2 separate regions of the Homo sapiens genome follow, and region 1 is linked to region 2. The links are contacts of gene promoters, found by promoter capture Hi-C in blood cells and fetal thymus (Javierre and others, 2016). All regions are on one chromosome and are shown on one strand. Each heading gives the region's core, a stretch centred on a gene start or on the middle of the fragment in contact. The rest is flanking DNA. Distances are from core to core; before and after follow the strand shown. Region 1 overlaps FAM107B (family with sequence similarity 107 member B). Region 2 holds the start of RPP38 (ribonuclease P/MRP subunit p38).

Evidence for each region. Contacts are between HindIII fragments. The CHiCAGO score rates a contact against its expected background, and 5 or more counts as called.
Region 1: a fragment that was not itself captured here is called in contact with the fragment with the promoter of RPP38 in region 2 in 1 of 17 cell types (erythroblasts); the score reaches 5.3 in erythroblasts.

The regions. Positions count from the first base shown.
Region 1 is chr10:14,599,174-14,606,424 of GRCh38, reverse strand. All of the region lies in intron 2 of FAM107B (family with sequence similarity 107 member B), which reads left to right. Among named protein-coding and RNA genes, the nearest start is that of MIR1265, 170 kb to the right of the region's middle. RefSeq lists silencers at 1,667-2,166, 2,397-2,616 and enhancers at 4,286-4,455, 7,143-7,232. The HindIII fragment of the contact is 2,742 bases long and covers 1,002-3,743 here.
Region 2 is chr10:15,093,356-15,099,613 of GRCh38, reverse strand. RPP38 (ribonuclease P/MRP subunit p38) reads right to left here and starts at 2,259. Exons shown (of 3, transcript NM_183005.5): 1 at 1,848-2,259. RPP38-DT (RPP38 divergent transcript) reads left to right here and starts at 2,295. Exons shown (of 2, transcript NR_160789.1): 1 at 2,295-2,527; 2 at 2,749-4,229. It also overlaps the pseudogene GAPDHP45. RefSeq lists enhancers at 1,552-1,691, 1,752-1,841, 2,143-2,714 and a silencer at 1,982-2,341. The HindIII fragment of the contact is 10,027 bases long and covers 1-5,593 here.

The DNA.
Region 1 (7,251 bases), core at 1,123-3,622, 490 kb after region 2:
CAACTCTGGGCTCACAGAGGCACATATTTACGATACAGTGCAATAACGCCAATACCATGTCGGGTATGGGAGGGGCAGAAAAGATCCATTTAGTGTGAGCAGGTCAGGAAAGGGTTTCCAGAGAAGACTGATTCTCAGAGAGGAGAGGAGCTCTTGGGGATTGGTGAAGGTCTGCTAGGCAGAGGGGAAGCCCGTGGAAGAGCATGACAAGGCCATATATTCATTATTTCATCCAGTCTTCATCACAGAGCAGGGCCACTTAGCAAATACGGCACTCTGGCTGAGTGGAGCCTTGGATGTTTGCTGGGGAGCTTCGACTTGATCATGTAGCAGGAAGCAGGCATCCACTAAAGTGTTTCAAGCAGAGGAGGAAACTGAGCATCTTGCACCTGGAAAGTTCACTTGCACCCCAGAAAGTTGAGAGGAAAAGCATGTGTTAGACCAGAGGCTGGGGCCAGTTAGGAAACCCCTGCCACCATATTGTGACTGAGCCCAAAGGCAACAGTGGCGGTGCCAGCAGAGGGGGAGGGAGATAGCCAGGAATTGTGCACACTGCACAAACCTTGGAGTTGATGCCAATGTGGGGAGGGAGAGAGTTTAGGCTGGATCCTAGGTTTTGGTTTGGTGACTGGTGGAGCCATTGTTAAGAACAGAAACACAACTCAAGGACGAGAGAGAAGGAAGAATCATAGGAAACACCATGTATAAAGTTCATGGAATTCAGCTTCCTCAGCTGGGAAGGAGTTTCTTTAAGTTCTCTGGCAGGGATTCCACCCCTCAGTGGGTTCCAGGGACCCAGGGATGGCCAGACCCTTACTTGGCTGGCAGGCTGTGGCTTAGAGCATGGTGTGTGATAGGTATCTTTGGAATAAGTAATTTGTTTACCAAAATCCGTAACTGATGTGACTTTTCAGTATGACTATGACCCAAACTGTCTTAGTCAGAAAAATTTCCCCATAAATAAGCCCTTAGTCATCTGTTGCCAAGACAGTTAAAAAGCTTTTGATCTAAAATCCACGAACCTGTTGTCCTTTTTGCTACGCTGAAACCGATAACTGTTTCAGTCCCTGATTTTGTACCTGCTGTGATTCAAGTAGATTGTAATCTCAGAGCCTTAGGGTTGGCCAGAAAAGCACTTGTAAGAGAGCTGAAGAAAAGGAGATCAGAGAGCAAAGAGGCGGAATAAACCCTTTCTTTCTTGCATATTTAAATTTCCAATTACCCTTTGATGAAGGGAGGGGAGGAAAATGGGTGAATCTCCAGGTCACCGGGTTTTGGGTCCTGGCTTGACCGTAAATTTGTACAATTACAACAAATGTCTCCTTTTCCTCCCTGATTCTGTCTGCGTTTTCTTCCAAGAGGAACTGGCAGGATTTCTATGGGGACGGCCTCTTAGCATCGCAGACTTGCCGGGGAGACGGAGCCCGGACACCCAGGAGCGAGACGCTCTTGGGTACTTTGTGTGTGAGACAGAATAAGAGAGAGAGATGGGGGTGAGCACAGAGAGAGAAAGAGAATGAAAGAATGAGACAGAGGAGAGAGAAAGAATGAAAGAGAATGAGAATGAGGGAGAGAATGAGAGAAAGAGAGACAATGAGAGAGAAAGAGATTAAGGGAGAGAGAAAGAGATAAAAGAAGAGAGAATGTGTGTGTGAGAGAGACAGAGAGGTAGAGGGAGAGAGCGAGGGAACGAGGGAGTGAGAAAAAAGGAGAGTGAGCGCCCCGGAGCTTTGTGGCTGTGACCCACGCGGCCGCCTTCCCACTTTCCCGGTCATCCGGGGCCGCCGCGCTTTCCCTCCAGCCCTCGCTCCCACCGAGTCCCGGAGGCCGAGCGCTGCAGCCCCGGCTGGTGCCCCTCCCGGCGCGGATGCCCGGCCTTTCTGGATCTCCGCCCGACGCGCGCGAGCCGTGGAAGGAAGGCGGGGGCGGGGCTGCCAGGGCGGGGCGCGTTGGGGGCGTGGCCTTGCCGCCCCGCCCCTCCCCGCCCCGCCGCTTAATTCGGACGCGCGGGGCCGCGGGGAGCGAGAGCCGCCCTGCGCCGGACTGGCTTGCGGGCCGGGCCGCCGCCCCCGGAGCCGCCCTCGCGCCGCCTCGGGCCGCCGCCGAGCAGTCGGGCCGCTGGGCGCCGCCGCGGGCGCCGGGAGCGAGCTGGGAGGGAGCCGCGCGCCTTTGTGCGCGCGCCGAGGTAGGTTCGCCTCCCGCACTTACTTTCCACACAAAGACGAGGGGCGCGGGGAGGCGGGCGGCGGCCCTGCCCGACCCCGGCTCCGGGGACCCTCTCGGCGGGCGGGCGGCCGGGCGGGTGGGGGGTCCCCGTGCGCGGGAGGGCAGCGGGCGTACGGGGACCACGGGTCACCCCGCGCGGCGCCCGGGAGGTGCCGGGGCTCAGGGCGGGCACGCGGCGGGGCCGTGCGGGGGGCGCCGCGGAGGCGGGGGCCGCTGCGGGGAAGGGGCCCAGCGGCCGCCCGGCTCATTGTTGCCTTCTCGGCGCTGCCGCGGGGGAGCCCTACCCGGCGCGGTGTGCACTGCCTGGCCGTGTGCGCCGTATGCCCGCCCTCGGCGCCCCTCGCCCCGCGGCGCCCGGCGTGGACCGGGTCGCGCCCCGACGCCAGCCCCCGCCAGGCAGACAAAGCCGGGGCCGGGGAGGTTTGCCCCGCGCCGACGGTGGCCGTGACACTGACTCCAGTCTGCAAGTAACTTTTCCTCTTTTGCCTCTTCTCTTTCTCCCCTGTTCCAGTGAACCCAGCATATGGGGTGGTGTAACACACACAAGGAGTCCTAATTCAATTTGGGTTCCGTAATTTCCCCCAGGCATCTTTAGGTCCCTTGGAGGTGGCACTGATGGGTATGGCCAAGTGTTAGTGTTATGTAGGGGATGGTGTCCACCACTTGTGAAATCTGCAAGAGGAATTAGGTTGAGAGGGTAAACTGTAGATTTCATTCTCTGCTGCAAGGTACCAAGCCTGCTTCCTTCCTCCCTCCCAAAGATTTTAGGCAATGACAGCGGAGCAAAGTTACTTGATAGGATGGGTGCGATTTTGAGGGGTCAAAGAAAAACGGAATGAGGGCTGTTGGACTTCACATTCTTAAACTTGCGATTTCTTGCTATCAAGTACATCGGTTTTCTCCTCCAGCCACGTTTTCCTAACATCACTTTGGAAATTCTATCTATCCAAGTGGCTTTAAGTTGAAATAGTGTCTGGGCTACCTGTCCAGAGAAGATTTCTTAGCGCTGCTGGTTTCCGGTTTAAAACTTTTCATGAGAAAATTTTATATATTAATTAAAAAATTGAAAATATATAGAAAAAAACCACTCATATGCTCACCACCCAAACACACCCTAAGGATGAAGGCATCTTTGCTTAATTTATGACTTGGCAGCCATAGTGTGTTTGTGTGTGTGTGTGTGTGTGTGTGTGTGTGTGGGAAAGAGGGTGGGGTGGTAAATGAGAGCATTACTGACCAGCCACATCAGCCTAAAATATATTTAATCATGATAATTCTACAATATTGGTATGCCACTTACATCCAAGATTAATACGGACAAGTTGTTTTGAAATATATTTTCTTATAGGTTTGCATATAACCACCTGTACAGAAGGGAGAAGAAAGAAACAGGAAAAACAATGTAAATTTCCACTTTATTTGGAAGAATGGGCTGACAAAAAAGTTTCATGGACTATATTTTTGAATTCAGGAGTCATTTGGGATTGACTTTTGTCTTTAAATGAAATCTTTAAGCTTTAAAAATATTTTAAAGGTAACATTGTGTTCTGAGATTCATAAGAAATATGTGATGGAAAGGAATTCTTGTTTGTGGAACAAGGAATAGCAGTGATTGTACAACCGGGTGCATGCTGGCTTCTTAAAGACCTTGCACTGAGAAAGTAAAATAAGGGTTTTCCTGAGAATCGTGAGTTGTGTTGAGTGTGTATGTTCTTTTAAAATAAAATCGTTCTTTAGCCACAGATTTGGCCACTGGACGCTTTTGTCATTACATACTTTTATTTTCCTCTTGTAACATTTTTGGACTTTTGAATTCTCTAATATGCAAAATAGAGGTCTTTGAGACAACCGTTTAGAAGTAGGTTGATCATTAGGATGATGCAATACATTTTGAAGTTAGAAGAATCTACAAGAAGGAAGTTGTGGCTGTGTCCACTCAGGTGCATTTTTGTTGCAGTTCCTGACACTCGGGGCGCTTTAATCTGCACACACGCTCAGGGGAGTGTTGCGGTGCAGTAGTAGCCTGTGAGTGAATGAGTCATGCATGCAGTCTGCTCTGATGATCGGCATTCCTTCAGGAGTCGTGATGTGTTTCTGTCTGCAAAAGTCAAACGAAGCTCCAATAGGAAATGTCACAATCTCCTACCCCAGGGGACTGGAGATCCCCTTCCTTGGGTGGTTAAAAATGGACTTGATTTGCGCTTCTGAGAAACTGACATGTGAAATCTTGTTCCTGATGTGGGAGGATGGACGCCGTCATTCATTCATTCATTCATCGAATCTTTCCTTTGACTGTTAATTGTTTAAAATCTCACAAGTAAAGGTGGAAAAGAGTTTTACTGATTTTCTTTGGGAATGGTGGAGGGGTAGAAGACTTCTCTCCTGATGGAAAGAGGAAAGATGAGGAATATGGCTTAATGTTATTCCTAACTTACCTTCTGCCCCTTCCCTCCAGAATTCTGTGTGCAAGTGTTTTAAGGAAATGAGTTGGGAGTTTGGGTAAGTGAGATCTAGATTTTGGGCATTTGTAGAAGTCCCCGGCTATCTGGGGGAGTTGTCACTCTTCTTTCAGCCTAGAGAAGGTGACTATGGGTGCTAGTGTGCTGTGGGGCACACTCGGGGGTGGGAAAGCTGCTGTGGAGTGGGATGTCCTCTGTGTGCATCATGGGGTCGAGTGTGGCCTTGGGATGACCTCATGAGACCTTGCTGCATTTCCTTGTATAGTTCCCTTGTCTAATCATGGCCTATTTTTGCTTTTCCTTCTTGAAACAAACCATTTTTCTCCCCTTTTCCTTTCTAGTTCAAGAAGGGCTGGGCCTGACCCATCTGAAGTTTCCCTCACCCTAAGTACTTAGGAAACGTGCTGAAGAGGAATGGACAGTCTTACCCATCTCATATCCCTAATTCCGGTACCCCATCAGTGAAAGAAAGAAAGATTATTTGGCAAGCTGGATTAGATTGCCATTTAGTTATGGTGCATGGACAAGGGGCTATTTTAAGGTTGATGGGGGAGGCTTTGCTTGTCATTTACTCTCCATTCACCAGACATTCAGTGCCCGTCATGTGCCAGGCACTGGGTTTACTGCTGTTAACAAGACTATAAGGCAGGTGAGGAGGATATTTAAAGAACTGGGCTGGGTACAGTGGCTTGTGCCTGTAATCCCAGTGCTTTGGGAGGCTGAAGCAGGAGGACTGCTTGAGGCCAGGAGTGTGAGACCAGCCTGGGCAACATAGTGACCCTCATCTCTACGAAAAATTAGCTGGGTGTGGCAGCGCGCTCCTGTGGTTGAAGCTACTCAGGAGGCTGAGGCAGGTGGAATGCTTGTGACCAAGAGTTTGAGACCAGGCTGGGCAACATAGTGACCCCCATCTCTACAACACATTTTTAAAAATTAGCTGGGAGTGGTGGTGCATGCCTGTAGTCCCAGCTACCCTGGAGGCTGAAGCAGGAGGATCACTTGAGCCCAGGAGTTCGAGGCTGCAGTGAGCTGTGATCACGCCAGTGCACTCCAGTCTGGGTGACAGAGTGAGAGCCTGTCGCTAAAAAATACATATACATATACATAAAAAAGAATTATACAAAATTACACAAAAATTGTTTAATTACAGTTAAGAGCTGGGAAGGGAAAGCACTGCTTGGTGAATTAAGGTATCTCAGAAAGAATGATGTCAATGCCATTGAAGGTGGGGGTTGGGTTTCTGATGGTGGAAATGTCAGGGTGGGTGGGTGCGGCGGGCCATGGAGCTGCATAGGGATTTGCCTAGCGCCCATCAGTTCAGAGCCTGCTGGTAGGGGCTTAGCTGAACAGATGAGGTGGACTGTTCAGTTCTGTCTGGAATTTGGCTGTGGGGTTCGGACACTTTGTCGCTTGGGATTGAAGGTGGATCGGGAAACCGTATGGTTCTGTCCCAGTGTCCTTGCTGAAGGTAAACCTCATGGCCAGTAGCCCTGGGAAGCCGGTTGTGGTAGGACGTGGTGTCCTGAGCTGGCCTGGATTCCAGAAGTGAGGACTTGTATCATGCAAAGGGCACCCAACTACAGCTGTGCCCACCAGAGGTTTTGTTGCAAATGAAAAGATAAGAGGAATTTGTGGGGAAAGAGTGAGAAGACTTATTTAAGAACATTATTCGGACTCAGATGAGCTGTAGGAAGGAAAACGGGGAGAGAGATGCAGAAAAAGGAGGTAATGTTGCTTTGACACCAGGTGAACTCTTGACTTTGGGACTGACTTTTTGTTTTTAAGTGAAAATAAATCTTTCAGCTTTAAAAATATTTAAAGAGTAAAATTGAGTTCTGAGATTCATGAGATGTATGTGATGGAAAAGAGTTTTTTTTTTTTTTTTTGTAGATCAAGGAATAGCAGTGATCCCACAGCAGGGTACACGCTGGCACTGAGAAAGAAGAAGGGCTTCCCCACAAAGAGGGAGTTGTGTTGAGTGTGTATGTTCTATGGAAATAGAAATCATTATTCAGCCGCAGATTCTACATTCTTTTATATTCCCTGACCAGAGATGTTTTACCAAAGGTGTGAGTTAAGCATATCTTTTTTTAAAAAACTGTAGAGATGGGGTCTCACTATGTTGCCCCGGCTGATCTTGAACTCCTGGGCTCAAGTGATCCTCCTGCCTTGGCCTCCCAAAGTGCTGGGATTATAGACGTGAGCCCCCAGGCCTAGCCTACCAAGGATGTGAGTTAAGCACACGTGAATAGTCCTAAAACAGGCCCTGTGGTCTGTAGTGGTGTTGGGGGCGTGTGTAAGTCACATGGGTTGGAGACAATAATGTTTCCTCCACACAGCAAAGTCTTGGGGTTTCTGCTGTGGCAGAGAGACTGGGGTGTAAGAACAGCACCCCCTTAGAGGCTGTGAGAGGGCAGGGGACCCTCTGGGCTGCTCAGCAGGCCTCTTCCTGGTGGGGCTGCTTAAGTCCTTAGCAGTCGGGAGACTTAGAAGTCTTGAAGTGGGGGGGGACACTGAGCCCCAGCAACCCTCAGGTTATGTATGTGTTGTCAAGTCTCCCGTAGAA
Region 2 (6,258 bases), core at 1,010-3,509:
CCAGCTACTTAGGTGGGTGGCTGAGGTAGGGGAATTGCTTGAACCCAGAAGGCGGAGGCTGCAATGAGCCGTAATTGCACCACTGTGCTCCAGCCTGGGCAATGGAGTAAGACTCCGTCTTAAAAAAAAAAAAAAAAGAAATTCTATAGAGACAAGGTCTTGCTTTGTTGCCTGGGCTGGTCTTCAACTCCTAGGCTCAGGCAATCCCGTAGCCTCGGCCTCCCCAAAAGTACTGGGATTGAGGGCATGAGCTACCATGCCCCGCCTAAACTCTAATGTGACATAAAAGGCCCTCCACACTCCAGCTCAATCTCCCACTTAGGCCCTCTTTCTCCTTAGGCCCCACCAAGCACAAGTCCTCAACACCGAACAACATACTATTTAATGAGGCCAGCATTTTCCCACCTGCAAGTCTTTATACACATTAGTCCCTCTGCCTGGAATACCACTCCCACCCTCAGCCGCAGGCCCCTTCCTTTCTTCAACAAATATTTATCGATTATCCACGATGTGCCAGGCCATAAAGATTAAGTATTTTTTCTCACAGACCTCATGAGCTTAGAGTCCACGAGGAAAAAATATTAGCAAGTAATTATACAATAAAGCCTGATGCACATGAAGGTCAGGGAACAGTATGCTTAGGGAACATCCAGCAGAGGCCTAGCTTAGTTGAGGGGGGTGGGAAAAGGCAGTCCTCACAGAGGAACTTTTTTTTTTTTTTTTTTTTTTGAGACGGAGTCTCATTCTGTCGCCAGGCTGAAGTGCAGTGGCACAATCTCGGCTCACTGCATCCTCCGCCTCCAGGGTTCAAGCGATTCTCCTGCCTCAGACTCCCGAGTAGCTGGGACTACAGGCACGGGCCATCACGCCCGGCTAATTCTTGTATTTTTAGTAGAGACGGGGTTTCACCATGTTGGCCAGGATGGTCTCGATCTCCTGACTTTGTGATCCGCCCGCCTCGGCCTCCCAAAGTGCTGGGACTACAGGCGTGAGCCACCGCGCCGGGCCGGACCTCTTAACCTACATCTAAACAATGCCTACCAAAGGAAGTATGGAGTAAAGAAAGGTATCTCAGTATTAAAAGAAATAAGTTGGCTGGCGAGGTGGCTCACGCCTGTAATCCCAGCACTTTGGGAAGCCCAGGCGGGCGGATCACTTGAGGTCAGTAGATCGAGACTAGCCTGACCAACGTGGTGACCCGTCTCTACTAAAAATACGAAAATTAGCCGGGCGTGGTGGCAGGCGCCTGTAGTCCCAGCTACTCGGGAGGCTGAGGCAGGAGAATCGCTTGAACCCGGCAGGCGGAGGTTGCAGTGAGCCGGAATCGCGCCACTGCACTCCAGCCTGGGCGACTGCTATGTCTCAAAAAAAAAAAAAAAAAAAAAAACACGTTCAAATAAGTTCAATGTGGCTGGGGCAGAGATGCTAGAGAAAGCGGTGAGAAACTAGGAAAGGTGGGTAAGGACCAGATAATGAAGACCTTTGCAAGCGTTCCAGTGTGAAGCAACTTTAACATCTAAAGCAGAGGTGTCGTGATTAGAAAGACGTTATAGATCTTTGTGGATCTGGGCAAAGGAAGAGTCCCCGAGCAGCAAAGACGCTCCTGGAGTCGTCCAGGTTAGAAATGACGGTGGCCTGCACTAGAGACGCCGCAGAAAGGACTGGAGAAAAATACATGTTAGTCGGAAAAGAAGGTAGAATCTCCCGACACAGTAGTGACCAGCTGGAAGTAAAGTTGAGAACGGTATTGGTGGTGACTCCCGGTTTCTGGATCCCGCCGGTAGCCGAGGGGCGACGGCCGACCCAAAGCTCACCTCCCCACTGCACGCCGCCCCTGGATCGAGTACCTTGGTGCTTTACTATTTAGCACACGGAAGTGTTGTTCTGTTGTCCGTGTCTCCTTGGAGACCGTGGAGAACAGAAGGGCCGGCGGGGGTTTTCGCTTTGTACTCCTGGTGCCCAGCCGGCGCTGCAATCCAGCAGAGGAGCCGGACTAGAAACGCGGAAGCTCTGGGTGCACGCGCCCGGCCCGGGACTGGGCGGCCCAACCGGGAGGGCGGCGGGTCCTGCGGCCACGCAACAGGCGTTGGGGAAGCAGCAGAGACCCTGCGTGCGCGCGGGCTTCGGCCTCCAGATTCCGCAGAGTCCCGGGCCCGATCCCCCCGGGGCTGGCCTCCTGCCCTACGTGGGCCCCGCGCGCCCACCTGGAACTCACGATGGCGAATCCGTGGTCACCTGAAGGCAACAGCACCGGCGCCCAGTGCGCCTGCGCCGCGCGTGCGCAGAGCCCTCGCCTCCCGGCCTCGCCTCGCAGACGCGACGGGCCGGGGAGGAAGCGCTCGGAGCAGTGCAGGTTTCGTTATCCTGTGTTAGGTCACTCCGGAGAGGGGAAAGCGGCCCACAGCGTCGCGCGACCCGGAAACGACACAACGAGGCCCAATCTTTTAGACTCGAGTTTAGGCCCCGGGGTGGAGTCTCCGGACCGGGTCCCCCCACCCCCGCTACAGGGGCAGTGCGCAGGCGCGAGGTATGTATCGCGAGACCATGCGGTTGCCCGGGTAACCAGACGCTCAGGACTTGGACCGTCCAGTTGTTCGGAGGCCAGCCTATAGCCAATGGTATCCCGAGGGCTCGCTCTCTCCGGGCGTTTGTGCTCCCCTCTCTCTTCTAACCCAGTTTCTACCTTTCAGTGCTTTGGAATCTTAGCCCTCTGTCTCTATTCGCTTTTCTGTATTTGCCTTGCCTCAGGGACGCACAACCCCAGCCCCTGTCCCAGTGAGCCCGTCGCCATGGAATCCCTGCAGACTCCCCAGCACCGCGAAAATCAAGATAAAAGGGAGAAGGAGTATGGGGTAAAACACATGCCTATGGGCAATAATGCAGGGAATCTTGAGCCCGAAAAGAGAAAGGCAGTAAGAGTTGCCTTGAGTTCAGCAACAGCTGCACAGAATATCCCGTCCAGTGTCCACTGTGGCTGCTCCAAGCAATGGAGACTCAGGCTACCATCGGAGTCGCTGCAAAGTCGGGGACAAGTGATGAAGCGGCCGAATAACATTTTAAAGCTCAGGAATCTGGATCTGTTGATCTACCCTTGGCCAGAACTTAGAAGACGGCAGGTTGCTTCTGACCTAATGAGCCTCCTCCTTCTCCCCGCTTTTTCCGGCCTTACTTGGGCCCCCTTCCTTTTCCTCTTTACGTATCTGCCTCCTTTTCTCAATCTCCTCACTGTTGGTTTTGTATCCTATTTTCTGGTATAGTTTCTGTGATTTCTTTCTTTTATTTATTATTATTATTGTTGTTGAGACAGAGTTTTGCCCTTGTTGCCCAGGCTGGAGTGCAATGGCGCGAACCTGGCTCACTCCAGCCAGCGCCTCACAGGTTCAGGTGATTCTCCTGCCTCAGCCTCCGGAGTAGCTGGGGTTACAGGCACGGGCCACCAGCCCAGCTAATTTTTGTATTTTTAGTACAGACGGTGTTTCACCATGTTAGTCAGGCTGGTCTCGAACTCCTGACCTCAGGTGATCCGCCCACCTCGGCCTTCCAAAGTGCTGGGATTACAGGCATGAGCTACTGTGCCCAGCCTCTATGATTTCAATTTTCATGTTTAAGTACCTATGTAGAACCTAACTGTCCATAAGTAAACACAACAAAAAAAAGATTTGGCTTTTGGTCAAAGATCATTGGAGGTTACACAGGGTAAAGTGCAGTATGATTTTTATCACAATTAGAAAGATTAAAAAGAGATGACAGTGAGTTTGTGAGAACAGGTTTGTGTTTCATAAAATGAATTGTGTGAGTTAGCTATGATGAACTGCAAGCAGCTTGCATTTCCAAAGACAAATAGAGACACAGGAATCTAATTAAAATGCTAAAGTAATGGGAAGGAGACATCCATACGTTTTTGTCCCCCTAAGGTTCCAGATTTATAGTTTGAGCATCATCTCGGCTTACATTTTCTCTGTGGAAAACATCAGCCATTACATTACTTGGCTCTGGGTTGAAATCCTAACTTCATCAACTGAAGATCTTATGACCTAGGCAAGTTTATTAACCTCCTCTATGACGTGATAAAAATAGTATCTCTTGTGCGGATTAGAAGACATGTTCCTCTATGCTAAGATGATTATTATGTGCGGAACACATAGTTAAGTGCTTGATAAATTGAACTATGGCAAATCCAGTCTCAACCGTGGCAAAACTAAGTTAATAAAAATGAAACATAACCTTTATTATTTTAGTGCTTGTGTTTTATTTTAAAACTAGCAGTATAATTTCCACGAGGATTTTGCTAAAATTAACAAGTACATTTCGAAAGTAATTTCTGTCCCTCTTGTATCACACAAACATTACAACCAAAAAGTAAAAAACATTCTCCCATGACCCAATCACACCCATTTTTTTCTTTAGTGTTCCCTTCTACTTTGTTTCACATATGTGCATGCTTTTACATTAAACTAATACAGATTAAGTCTTCTGATTTTCTTTACACATAACGCTTTTTCATGTTTCTCAAATTATTACTTTACATATTTGATATCCTATTCTGAAGAAACGGTTTTTTTTTTTTGGAGACAGGGTCTTGCTCTGTTGCCCAGGCTAAAGTGCAGTGGCACCATCTCAGCTCACTGCAACCTCCTCCCAAGCTCAAGTGATCCTCCCACCTCAGCCTCCTGAGTAGCTGGGACTACAGGAGCATGCCACCATGCCTGGCTAATTTTTGTACTTTTTGTAGAGACGGGGTCTTGCCATGTTGCTCAGGCTGGTCTCAAACTCCTGGGCTCAAGTAATGCTCCTACCTTGGCCTCCCAGAGTGCTGGGATTACAGATGTGCACCACCACACCTGCCAGTTTTACTTTTTAATGACAGTTGTTTTATCCTGTAAAATCTGTTTGGTCTTTGTATATTAGAGCTTTCTTTTTATATTAATTCTAGAATTGGACTACTGTTTGATTTGTATGCTTTCCATTATTTGACAATGACTTAAGATTCTGAGTGATGGCCGGCTGTGGTGGCTCACACCTGTAATCCCAGCACTTTGGGAGGCTGAGGCAGGAGGATTGCTTGAGCCCGGGAGTTCAAGACCAGCCTAGGCAACATGACGAAACCCCGTCTCTACAGAAAAAAAAAAAAAAAAAATTAGCTGGGCATGGTGGTGTGTGCCTGTAGTCCCAGCCACTCCTGAGGCTGAGGCAGGAGGATTGCTTGAGCATAGAAGGTGGAGGCTACAGTGAGCTATGATCACACCACTGCACTCTAGCCTGGGCAACAGAGTGAGACCCTGTCTCCAAAACAAATAAATAAAAAGATTCTGAGTAATAAATTAGATCATTAGCCACAATCCTTTGATGAAATAAGTGAAGGTCCCAACAAGAAAATTTGTCAATAGAAGAATGTAAGGGAATTGACCACCAGATTCTTCTTTTCCTCCATGGTATTCTGACCTTAGCTGTGTGTGTGTGTTTGTGTGTGTGTGTGTGTGTGTGTGTGTGTGTGTGTTATGTAACAGTAGTTGTTATGTAAACAATTCATTATTTTAAATCAGTTACTAAGAATAAACTTTAATGATGAGATGCAAAATGAATACTGAAAGCTTTACTAATTGGAACGGTATAGTACTCCAAAGAATATCTGTGTCCATAGAGACAAGTGAAGGTGAGGAGTTTCAAGCAGTTGAGCAATTCGCAGGTCTCACAAAACAGCAAAATCAAGACCAACATGATGTCAGCTCCCTGCATCTCTAATCCCATGGGACAGCATTCCCAATCTCAGAGGTCAGATGACAGGTCTTATGAGTGGTGGGTCACTCTGTCGAGGAACAAACTAAACTTCAGCAAGCAGTTCTACAGATTTACACAGAAGCCTGCGGCTCCATCCTAAAGTGGAGCAGGTTGTAGGGGGTGCGGAGAAAGAAGGGGAAGATGGAAAGCCCTAGTCTCAACTAAACTAGGGACATGGATGAGAAACAGCCTTGTGAGACTCTCCCACAAGATAGGGAAGCCCTGTGGGCAAGGTCATCCCTGAGCTGAATGGGAACCTCCCTGGCATGGCCTTTTGTGTCCCCACTGCCAACGTGTCAGTTGTGGGCCTGAACTGCCATCTGGAAAAACCTGCCAAATAGGATGACATCAGGAAGGTGGTGAAGCAGGCTTCAGAGGGCTCTTCAAGGGCATCCCGGGCTACACCGAGCACCAGGTCATCTCCTCCAACTTCAACAGTGACACCCACTCTTTCACCTTCGATGCTGGAGCTGGCATTGC